Linked DNA regions of Homo sapiens: regions 1 and 2 are each linked to region 3. Evidence: promoter capture Hi-C in 16 types of primary human blood cells and fetal thymus (Javierre and others, 2016). All regions are on one chromosome and are shown on one strand. The core of a region is centred on a gene start or on the middle of the fragment in contact, and the rest is flanking DNA. Distances in the headings are between cores, read along the strand shown.

What was found. Contacts are between HindIII fragments. The CHiCAGO score rates a contact against its expected background, and 5 or more counts as called.
Region 1: a contact is called between a fragment that was not itself captured here and the fragment with the promoter of OR8B3 in region 3, in 2 of 17 cell types (megakaryocytes and erythroblasts). The highest score is 5.5, in megakaryocytes.
Region 2: a fragment that was not itself captured here is called in contact with the fragment with the promoter of OR8B3 in region 3 in 3 of 17 cell types (total B cells, M1 macrophages and M0 macrophages); the score reaches 8.6 in total B cells.

What each region holds. Positions count from the first base shown.
Region 1 is chr11:124,052,945-124,056,580 of GRCh38, reverse strand. It overlaps the pseudogene OR10D5P. Among named protein-coding and RNA genes, the nearest start is that of OR10G7, 13 kb to the right of the region's middle. The HindIII fragment of the contact is 2,119 bases long and covers 850-2,968 here.
Region 2 is chr11:124,072,509-124,076,177 of GRCh38, reverse strand. No RefSeq gene overlaps it. Among named protein-coding and RNA genes, the nearest start is that of OR10G7, 33 kb to the right of the region's middle. The HindIII fragment of the contact is 348 bases long and covers 2,163-2,510 here.
Region 3 is chr11:124,396,685-124,400,282 of GRCh38, reverse strand. It overlaps OR8B3 (olfactory receptor family 8 subfamily B member 3), which reads left to right and starts at 1,259. Exons shown (of 2, transcript NM_001005467.2): 1 at 1,259-1,593; 2 at 2,915-3,598. The coding sequence starts at 2,932. It also overlaps a transcript of OR8B2 not described here. The HindIII fragment of the contact is 12,656 bases long and covers 1-3,598 here.

The sequences.
Region 1 (3,636 bases), core at 660-3,159, 340 kb after region 3:
GTTTACCTGAGAGACAGCCTATACTAATACATCTTTTTGGATATATGGGTACTAATTGACTTCTAAAGAGATTTTATTTTCTTTCTTTTTTTTTTATTTTTAAGACAGTGTCTCTCGTTCCATCGCCCAGGCTGGAGTGCAGTGCTGTGATCTTGGCTCACTGCAGCCTCCACCTCCCAGGTTCAGGCGATTCTCCTGCCTCAGCCTCCTGAGTAGCTGGGACTACAGGTGCCCACCACCACGCCTGGCTAATTTTGTATTATTAGTAGAGACGGGGTTTCACCATGTTGACCAGGCTGGTCTTGAACTCCTGAGCTCAAGTGATCTGCCTGCCTCAGCCTCCCAAAGTGCTGGGATTACAGGCGTAGGCCACCATACCCAGCCAGATAATTTCTTGGTATCAGACTCAGACATATGTCATCCATCAAAATATAGACTCAAAAAAAGTTATAGAAATCAATGGAGCAAATTTAATGTACTAGATTTGCTGGCAAATTGAAGAATATTCTGTGTAAACCGAAAAGAAGCTCCTGAGAGAAGTATTTATGTTACCATTTAGACACTACAGAAGCAGCATTAGCACATGGTTAAGACGCTTTGGGTCACATTTTCGCCCAGCAAGTTTTTAACTCCATGACACTGCAGAAAGATCTCAGCCTCTCAGTGCCTTAATTTTCCCTCGTAAATCGAGATAATAGTATTATCTACTTCATATGATTATTATAATCATTACATGTATCAGTATTTGTAAATAGCGCCTGGTACTCAGTCATCAAACAAAATATAGGAGCTAATTGCCCCCAGATAAATTCAAGACAAAGCTGTAAAGACAGACCAGGATATAAAGCTTACCTTCCACAATTATGTACTCCTTGAATGAGCACCTTTCTCAGTGCCAGCTTTACACCTTTGTTTCTCAAAGTATATATCAAAGGATTCAGGGAAGGGATAACAATATTATTCAACACCTGAACCACAGAGTCCAGCCAAGGGCTGGAGGCAGGTCGGAGATAAATGAGGACTATTGGTCCATAGAAGAGCAGGATGGACGTCAGATGGGCACTGCAGGTTGAGAAGGCTCTGCGCCTACCTTCTGAGGAACTGATTTTCAGTATAGAGATAACAATGCAAGCATAAGAGGTGAGGATAAGAAGAAAACACATGAGCGCAACAACACCTACGTTGATGAAACTCACTGTCCGTGCTAGAGAGGTGTCTGCGCAGGCCAGGGGCAGCACCACCGGAATATCACAGAAAAAAATTGTCCACTTCATTGGGGCCACAGTAGGATAACTTAAAGATGAGGAGTGTGAGGACAGATGCATGCAGACAGCTCCCCGTCCAGGTGCCTAGCGTCAGGAGGGCACACACCCTGCGTTTCATGATGACCGTGTATGGCAAAGGGTGGCAGATGGCTGCAAATCGGTCATAGGCCATCACAGTGTACAGGAAACACTCGGTGCAACCCAGGAAATGGTGAAAGAAGAGCTGGGAGGCACAACCCTGGAAAGAGATGGTGCAGCTTTGTCCCACTAAGCAGAGCATCATTTTGGGGGAACTCACTGAAGGGAAAAATATGTCAAACACAGACAGGTTTCCCAGGAAGAAATACATGGGGGTGTGGAGGTTGGAGAAAGTGAGGACGGCCAGAAGAATGAGTAGGTTCCCCAGCAAGGTGAAGAGGTAGAAGGCCAGAAATAAGACAAAAAGCACATTTTCCATCCCCTTTGTATGAGGGATTCCCATCAGGGGGACCTCAGTTACTGGAGTGTGATTCTTTATCTTCATGTCAAATTAGTCCTGGAACATCAAACAATGGCCTCACTGAGATGAGTTTTTCCTGCAAAAAACTCTTTATAGAGCCTATCGCAAACTGATAATAAGTATATAGAGTGGAGAACTTCTAAATAAGACTCAGTTCAATCCTGTCATTAATTATTGAGTGACATTTGGGTAAGTTATTAATCTATTTTTCATCTGTTTCCTCATAAGTAAAATGAAGAGACAACACTAGAGTTGATATAGAAGAGAAGGTGTAGAATAAACTTTACAACTGGAAGTATCTGAGTTTACATACTAAACACGCTGCCCACTCTGACATCAGATGACCTTGAAAAAAACTCTTTAAATCTTTTCTGAATATATATAAATAGTAAAATAATATATTATGGTTCCTGTGTACATTAATGCATTGATGTCTGCAAAGTACCCATATAATTTTGGCTCCTACCCATCTTTGTTAAAAAATTTATTCATCAAATTATTTAATGTGTGCCTTATTCCACAGCATTTCTCTAAGTTGACTTGTAGCAGTTCTGAGATTACCCATTCATGTGACTGATCCGGGAGGCAGCTTTCTCAATCAGCAGCTAGAGTAACTGAAAACTGAGAATTGTCTAATGGGTGTAAAACAGAAAGGAAGCCTGGGCATGGCGGCTCACACCTGTAATCCCAGCAGCTTGGGAGGCCAAGGTGGCAGGATCACTTGAGCCCAGGGATTTGAGACTAGCCTAGGCAATACAGTGACGCCTTGTCTCTTCAAAAATTTAAAAAAAAAGGAAAAGAAAAAGAAAAAACTAGCTGAGTGTGGTGGTGTATGTCTGTAGTCCCAGCTACTTGGGAGGCTGAGGTGGGGAGATCCTTTAAGCTGAAAAGGCAGAGATTGCAGTGAGCCAAAATCATGCCACTGCACTCCAGCCTGGGTGACAGAGTGAGACCCTGTCCCAAAAATAACTTAAATAAAAATAAAGAAATAAAAGAATAGAAAAGATGATATGTAGGTAGGAAAAAGCAATAGATAATTACTGATATTAAAAACAGCCATTTCTTTTAATAGAGTTTAGTGTCCAATAGCAATTATATCTGTGACTTGACTGCAAATAATCATCATTTTTCCTAGAATTAGCTTTATAATTCCCCATTATCACTTTACATCTTATTCATTTCCTAAAATTTCTAAGGTTAAGCTTCATTAATCAGGTAATAGCTCAATAAAATACCATGGAGTCAACTAAGTCAGATTTAGCCCAAAGTCAAACAGAGCCAATTCCCACGTTCTTCCCACCTTCCTCTAGTGCGTAGAACTCATCAGAAGATGAGAGGGGAGCACTCCAGAGAAAAGGCACTCACAGACTGAAGGGAAATGTGGCTGTCCTGGGCTGAAAACCAGGCCCTACGTCCACCCAGCCCTGTTTCCTTTGCTTTTAGGTGCTGTGGATCATCTGTGGCTCTGGGGCTAGAAAAGCCGAATGTTCCTCTTTTTCAGACTCAGCCACCCAGGCCAGAAAATCTCAGTGCCCCTGGCCCCTGAATGAAGTAGCAGCAATCAAGCCCTCAAGAGTGAATAAAAGTCTTCAGTTCCTTTGGGACCCTCTTCCCTAATGGGCACTAAGGAAGTGTGGAACCAAGGAAGCAATTAGACTGGAGGCGTTCCTCTCTTCCCTTCTCTTTCTCCCCACTGCATCTACCTCATTAATTCTTAGACTGAAATGCAATTATACAGTGGTATTTAGTTATATTCAGTTTAAAGCTCTTTAATTAACAATAATTCTTGGGCTGTTTTTCCTCTAGGAGCGAGCCATCCATGAAGTTCAGATGTTTGAGATTGCCCAGTGATCCTTTACCTGGAGAATCTGG
Region 2 (3,669 bases), core at 1,087-3,586, 330 kb after region 3:
CACCACCCTGAGGGCCACCGCAATGGGGCTGGGCCAAGCTACCCTCCAGCACAATCCGGCACTGAGGGGCAGGCAGAGCATCCGGACCCCCTACCCCAGGCTGTGAGGAGGCGTGGCCAGGGCTGTCTGCAAGCTCCAGGAGGCCAGGGGAGCCCCACCCTCCCAGGCACGGGACTCTGGCATTTCTGCTCTCTGTACCCTCGAGGACCCGGAAGGCCCTCCCGCGAAGGCTCAGGGTTGTCTGCTCCCACTGCCTAGCCGCTCGCCACTCCTGGCACCCACTCCAATCTCAGAGCAGGGTTGGGGCTGAATGAACCCTGGAGCTGTCACAGGCCGGCTGGGTGTAGCCGGGTGTGTGCACGCTGTGGGCAGCACTGATACACCAGCCCCCTGCTGCCTCGGCCCCCTCCAGACTTTGAGCATCCAGGAGCACAAAGGCTGGGTACGGGGGAAGCTGAGTGGTGGGGGGCTGAGGGCAGCTAGGTGCTGGCCTGCAGGTGCCCCTGGGGGCTAGCAGCCTGGGCGGCATGGACAGTGTCAGGAGGCAGACAGACTCCTGGGTGGAAGGGGTCAGGTCCCCCAGGGAGGGTCCGAAGGCTAGGGGCCAGGCTGCTGGTGGAGTGGGGTCTTGTGGTGCCTTTTCCAGACCTGCCCATGGCCACCCATGGACCAACTGGCACACACTTCCTCTCCTCTGAGGTCCATAAAAGCCCTGGGATCAGCTACAGCAGGGTAGATCAGAGGATGGAGAGGTGACAGGATGATCAGCAGCAGAGAGGAGTTACACTCTCTGCTGAGAGCTGCAGAGGCAATGGGATGACCTGCTGCAGAGAGGAGCCACCACTCTAGGGCCTCTTCTCTGCTTAGAGCTGCAGACAATGGGAGGACCCGCAGCAGAGAGGAGCTACCCTCAACACTTGTTGAGATGACCTCTAGCAGAGAGGAACTACCCGCTCCCTAGGAGCTGAACACTTGTCAGGACACTCCGGCTGCAGAAAGAAGCTCCCCACTGCAGGTCCCCTCTGAGCTGTTCTATAGCTCAATAAAGCTCTTCTTCCTCTTACTCACCCTCCACTTGTCTGCATAACTCACTTTTCCTAGTCACAGGACAAGAACTCGTGACCCAACGAATGGCAAAGCTAAAAGAGCTGTAACACAAACAGGGCTGAGACATGCCCCTTGCTTGCTCCCTACATTGCAGGTGAAGAGAAGGAAAGAAGAGCTGTGGCCCTTTGGGGATCCCAGACCTGGGAGCTCCCCCACAGGGCTGTGACTCCCTCTTTGGGGCCCTGCAATCTCCAAGCTTCCAGGCACCACCATGGTCCCCAGTGCCAGCTGTGGAAGCTGCTTGCAGTGCACCTGGTCTGGCCACAGCCTTGCAAAGAACCAGCACCCATGCCGGCACTTGGAGCTGCCCACCCCACTGCAGCAACCAGCCTGTCTGACTGTGTGCAGTGGCCAGACCTCACACTTGCTCACATACCCTTCACCGCTCCCACCTTACTCGCCCTTGGGAGACATGGGATCAAGGCCAGTAGCGTCAGCCAAGCACAGCCTGCAAGGCCAAGTAGGCAGAATGAGCCCAGTGGGCCCCACCAAATCTCAAGCAAAGGCGCCACTGGTCACAGATGTTTCCGGTCAGAAAAGTGACACCCCAAAGATCCCCTAACAGTAGACCTTCCCCACAATTGTTTTGCTTTGTTTCTTATATATAAACAAGCATTGTACCTAAGGTGGACGTAATTCTTCCTTTTGCTTTTGGGAATGTCCTGCTCTGCCTATGGAGTGGCCATTCTTTCATTCCTTTACTTTCCTAATAAACTTGCTTTTGCTTTACTCTGTGTATTTGTCCTGAATTGTTTTTTGCACAAGATTCAAGAACCCTCTCTTGGGGTCTGGATTGTGACCCTTTTCTGATAAAACAATTTAATGTTTTATATTGAAATGTGCTAATGTTGAATTTGTAAAGATACTATCAATAAAGAAAAATACAAACAATAATTGTTTTTAATCTACTGAAATCTATCGAGCAATAACCACTCAACAATTTGGTGATCATCTTTCCACCAAAGACACACGCATATGCTACACACACAAATTTACACAAGTAAATAACATTATAGCTATGATACTATACTCTAATTTTCCTATTCCCTAAAGCTTTTTCTCACATCAGTAACAGATAGCTGCCTCAACTTGAATGACTATAAAAATTCATTTTATGAATAAGTCAAATTATTCTTAACCCATTAATAGAAATATTTTTCTTTAAGAGTTTACATTAATGAACAATCACTTTAAACTATCATCTCAACTAAGACACTTATTTCATATGTATGGTTCATTCATATGTGTATAATCTTGGTTATTTCCCTGCTTTATAAACGCAAAGGAACATAGTTATATTCTTATGTCTTTTCCCAGATTATTTTTACATCACTGTGAAAGGAAAACCTTTTTATATTACTTGTTAAAAATTTTTCTGATGGTCATAAGTTTGGGATTAAGCTTTCAATTTTGGGGCTTTCCTGCCCTCCATCAGGCTCATTAGATCAGATGTATTTCACTGCCATCATTTTCTTTTTTTCTTTTCTTTTTCTTTGGAGATGGAGACTCACTCTGTCACCAGGCTGGAGTCCAGTGGTGCGATCTCGGCTCACTGCAACCTCTGGTTCCCGGTTCAAGCTCCCGGTTCTCCTGTTCAGTCTCCTGAGTAGCTGCGGCTAGTGTTCTAATCTTTGCAAAGGTAGTTCCAAGAAGAGGAAAATAGTTCTGTCTAAAAGAATTCTTTGGAGTATTTATAGTTTCAGAAAAATAGAAATTTATGTGTAAAAACTGAAACTAAGGTAACATATTATTAACTAAAACAACCAGATAGCAAAACATATTTTAGAGATGAAGCATTACATTTTAGAGGACGTAGAACAATTTTTCCAATCAAGGTGAGTGTCCTAAAAGTTTGCATTATTAAGGAAAGTTCAAGGGGACGATTTTATAAAAATTATAAAGAAAAGAAGTGCAACACCGTACATTTTCTCAAGGCCCATAGTTTTGTGAATGTTTTCCTACATCATTTTATCAAAAAGGTTCTGACAATTCCAAATGCTATTTACTGCTATGGTGTTACGGGAAGGGGAAATCTTTTCTCTTTCATTTTTCTGAGATTCCTAATTGGTAGCAATTGTTAATAAAAAAGGCAAAAAATCTTAAGACTAAGATCTGGAGATAAGCAAGTTTTCACAGAAAGAAACTTAAAACTTTGAAAATAGTGAAAAGCGCAGGAGGAATTTTAACAAATGCAAAATGAGGAATATAATAGGATGTTTTTACTTGCAACCAGGAATTAAAATGGAGGAGAAAGTAAGTTGTTTCTTACCTCTATCAGTTTCAAGTTTACTTAGCGTTTTTGATTTGGAGAAGAAAGGAAAAGATATACGTCAGAGATCTTTTAGGTAAAGCAAAATGAAACAAAAATATGTATGAGTTATGGGAAAATAGAAGAAAGAAAAAGGAGGCCGCAAGCAGTGGCTCACGCCTGTAATCCCAGCATTTTGGGAGGCCGAGGCGGGCAGATCATGAGGTCAGGAGATCAAGATCAGCCTGGCCAACACGGTGAAACCCTGTCCCTAGTAAAAATACAAAAAAATTTAGCCAAGCGTGGTGGCGCAC
Region 3 (3,598 bases), core at 10-2,509:
ATAATTTCATGATGTATACATTTATCAAAACACCACATTGTATCCCATAAATACATATAATAATTACTAATAAAAAATAAGAAAACAAAAGTTTATACATCTCTTTTAAGATGGATATTTTTGGCTGGGTATGGTGACTCACTCCTGTAGTCCCACCACTTTGGGAGGCCAAGGCAGGTGGATTACTTGATCCCAGGAGTTCAAGACCAGCCTGGGCAATATGATGAAATCCTGTCTCTATAAAAAATACAAAAATTATCCAATGGTGGTGGCATGTGCCTGTAGTCCCAGCTACTTGGGAGGCTGAGGTGGGAAGATCTATTGAACCTGGGAGGTTGAGGCTGCAGTAAGCTGTGATTGCAGCAAAGCAGGACACAGTCTCAAAAAAAAAAAAAAAGAGAATTCTGTATCCTGACTTAGGTGGTGGTTACATAAATATGTACATGGGATAGAATTGCATAGATTTGCACACACATACATACGAGCATGTTAAACTAGTGAATAAGGTCTGTAGTTTCGTTAACATTATTGAACCTATGTCAATTTCCTGGTTTTGCTATTGTCCTATAGTCGTGGAAGACATCGCCATGTGAGGAAACTGGGTGAAGAGTTCAAGGGAATCTACGTATGACTTTTGCCACTTCTTGTGATTCTAGTAATTTTAAAATAAAAAGGTAAAAAAATAGATGCCTTCTCACAAGCACAAATTCCTACCTACAGAGAAATTCTAAAGTCACACTGTCTTGAAATAACGGCCCATGAATAGTGATTTTTCTTACGGATTTGATTTTAACATGAAAGACAAAGACATGTTGAGTTAGAGCAACCCAAGGTAAATACATTTTTATGAAATAAAGGATAATTCTATGTTACACAAAATTTTTATTAAAAAATCTGAAATCAATTAAAAGTATCCCTTTTCTTTATGCCTATGAAGTATGCAAAAGTAAAAATGGATTATTTGAAAGATTATTTAAAAGGACTCACAATATTAAAAATGAGCATATAAACTTCACTAAATTATACTTACATTCCTGTTAAAGCTAATATACTACCTAGGATTATAATTAGCAAAAATTCTGACAATCATTACATTTACATCTTTATACATGAGAGCAGATGCTCTTTCTCCTATGCCCTGTGGATTGTATAATCCCTGATGAGAAATTTACCTCTACTACAACAAATTAGGCTGTAAACAAGGGCATACAATTTCTTCCCTGCAGAGTTTGTCATGGTAGGGGAGGTCCTGAGAGAGACTTACTGGGGGATATGTAATCAGGTCCAAAAGAATTGTAAGCCTTGAGCAAATGCCATGTGCTCTATGACATGGTAGCTCTGGTTTGAAGTGCAGTTTTCCAACAAACCCTCTTGGCAAATTTATAAATAATAGTTTGATCTACACCACAAAATGATTCCCAGAACATTCAGATTCTGAGATCTCTGCTCAATGCTTTTGCCAGTCAAGGGAGAAGAAGATTCTGTGACTACATCTGATCAACATAGATACCTTCACAGCCATTTCTTCCTCCAGGGCAGTGGAGGTGAAACACATATCAATGGTCAGCACTGAGTTCTCTGAGTGGAAGGAAGGTGAGTTAATCAAGTTTCTATTTCTCTCTCCTGGATGTTGCTGAAAAATGGGGAAAAGTATTCTATTCAATAGCAAGAAACTTAGTGGTATGGAGCTCTGACTCTTGGGCTTGCATTTTTCTCACACTGTTCTCTCTGTTGGCTTCATTCTTAGCCTGGTATCAAGATAGCAATAGCAGTTCCAAGTGACACATCCAGAACAGAGGAATGCCAGGAAAGGATATTTGTCTCTTTATTAAAAAATATATTGACATGTGCTATACATATAGAAGAGTTTAAGGGTCATAAAAATACCAGTTTGGTAAAATTTTACAAACTTAACAACTAATATAACTGTACCCAAATTAATTATGTTTCTCTTATGCCTTCCTACAAAGACCTGTGAAAGCACATTCAGCTTCCTTTCTTCATCCTGTCTAGCTAGGATGGAATAGAGGAGAATGTGTAGAAACACTTATGTGATTTGTATGTGGTGAATCATAAGGCTTTGACTACTAAGGGTCTTCTGTTATCACCTGGTGACTTCATGGATTCTTATAGTAAGGTATCTAGAAACCCTATAGGAGACCCCTGTCTAGGAAACAGAATATCGGTATGGTCTCTGCCCTAAAGGAATCCTCCCTTACCTGGTGGTCATCACAAGGAAACTGAAGTGTCTAGTAGAATAATGGAAACATAAGTAGAAACTAGGAAGTGGCCAGGCTCGGTGGTTCACACCTGTAATTCCAGCACTTTGGGAGGCTGAGGCAGGTGGATCATCTGAGGTCAGGAGTTTGAGACCAGCCAGACCAATATCATGAAACACTGTCTCTACTAAAAATACAAAAATTAGCTGGGATCGTGGCATGTGCCTGTAATCCTAGCTACCTGGGAGGCTGGACAGGAGAATCTCTTGAACCCGGGAGGCAGAGGTTGCAGTGAGCCGAGATCCCACCATTGCACTCCAGCCAGGGCAACAAGCGTGAAACTCCATCTTAAAAAAAAAAAAAAGAAACTAGGAAGTGAAGGGCCAGATGGAAGCGAGGGAGATGAGACACATCCACATAACCCAAGCTCAACAGCAGGTAGGCCTGTGCCTCAGCTACTCCACCTCTCTGTCTTCTAGTAAGGACAGGAGCAATTGTTTGTCACATTCAGTCTGTACAGACAAAAGACACTGACTGAAATGTTGAGGAGTGGGAGTGGCAGTACATTCAGAACATTCAGATCCCATGAAACAAAGAAGTCACCCAAATTCCTACAGCCTGAGTCCCCTCCTCATTAATGAGATTTTGTAAAAAGAAATCTGTGTTCCTAATAGAATTTTCTTTTGTCTTCCCAGATTTTTGAAGACAAAAAATGCTGGCTAGAAACAACTCCTTAGTGACTGAATTTATTCTTGCTGGATTAACAGATCATCCAGAGTTCCAGCAACCCCTCTTTTTCCTGTTTCTAGTGGTCTACATTGTCACCATGGTAGGCAACCTTGGCTTGATCATTCTTTTCGGTCTAAATTCTCACCTCCACACACCAATGTACTATTTCCTCTTCAATCTCTCCTTCATTGATCTCTGTTACTCCTCTGTTTTCACTCCCAAAATGCTAATGAACTTTGTATCAAAAAAGAATATTATCTCCTATGTTGGGTGCATGACTCAGCTGTTTTTCTTTCTCTTTTTTGTCATCTCTGAATGTTACATGTTGACCTCAATGGCATATGATCGCTATGTGGCCATCTGTAATCCATTGCTGTATAAGGTCACCATGTCCCATCAGGTCTGTTCTATGCTCACTTTTGCTGCTTACATAATGGGATTGGCTGGAGCCACGGCCCACACCGGGTGCATGCTTAGACTCACCTTCTGCAGTGCTAATATCATCAACCATTACTTGTGTGACATACTCCCCCTCCTCCAGCTTTCCTGCACCAGCACCTATGTCAACGAGGTGGTTGTTCTCATTGTTGTGGGTATTAATATCATGGTACCCAGTTGTACCATCCTCATTTCTTATGTTTTCATTGTCA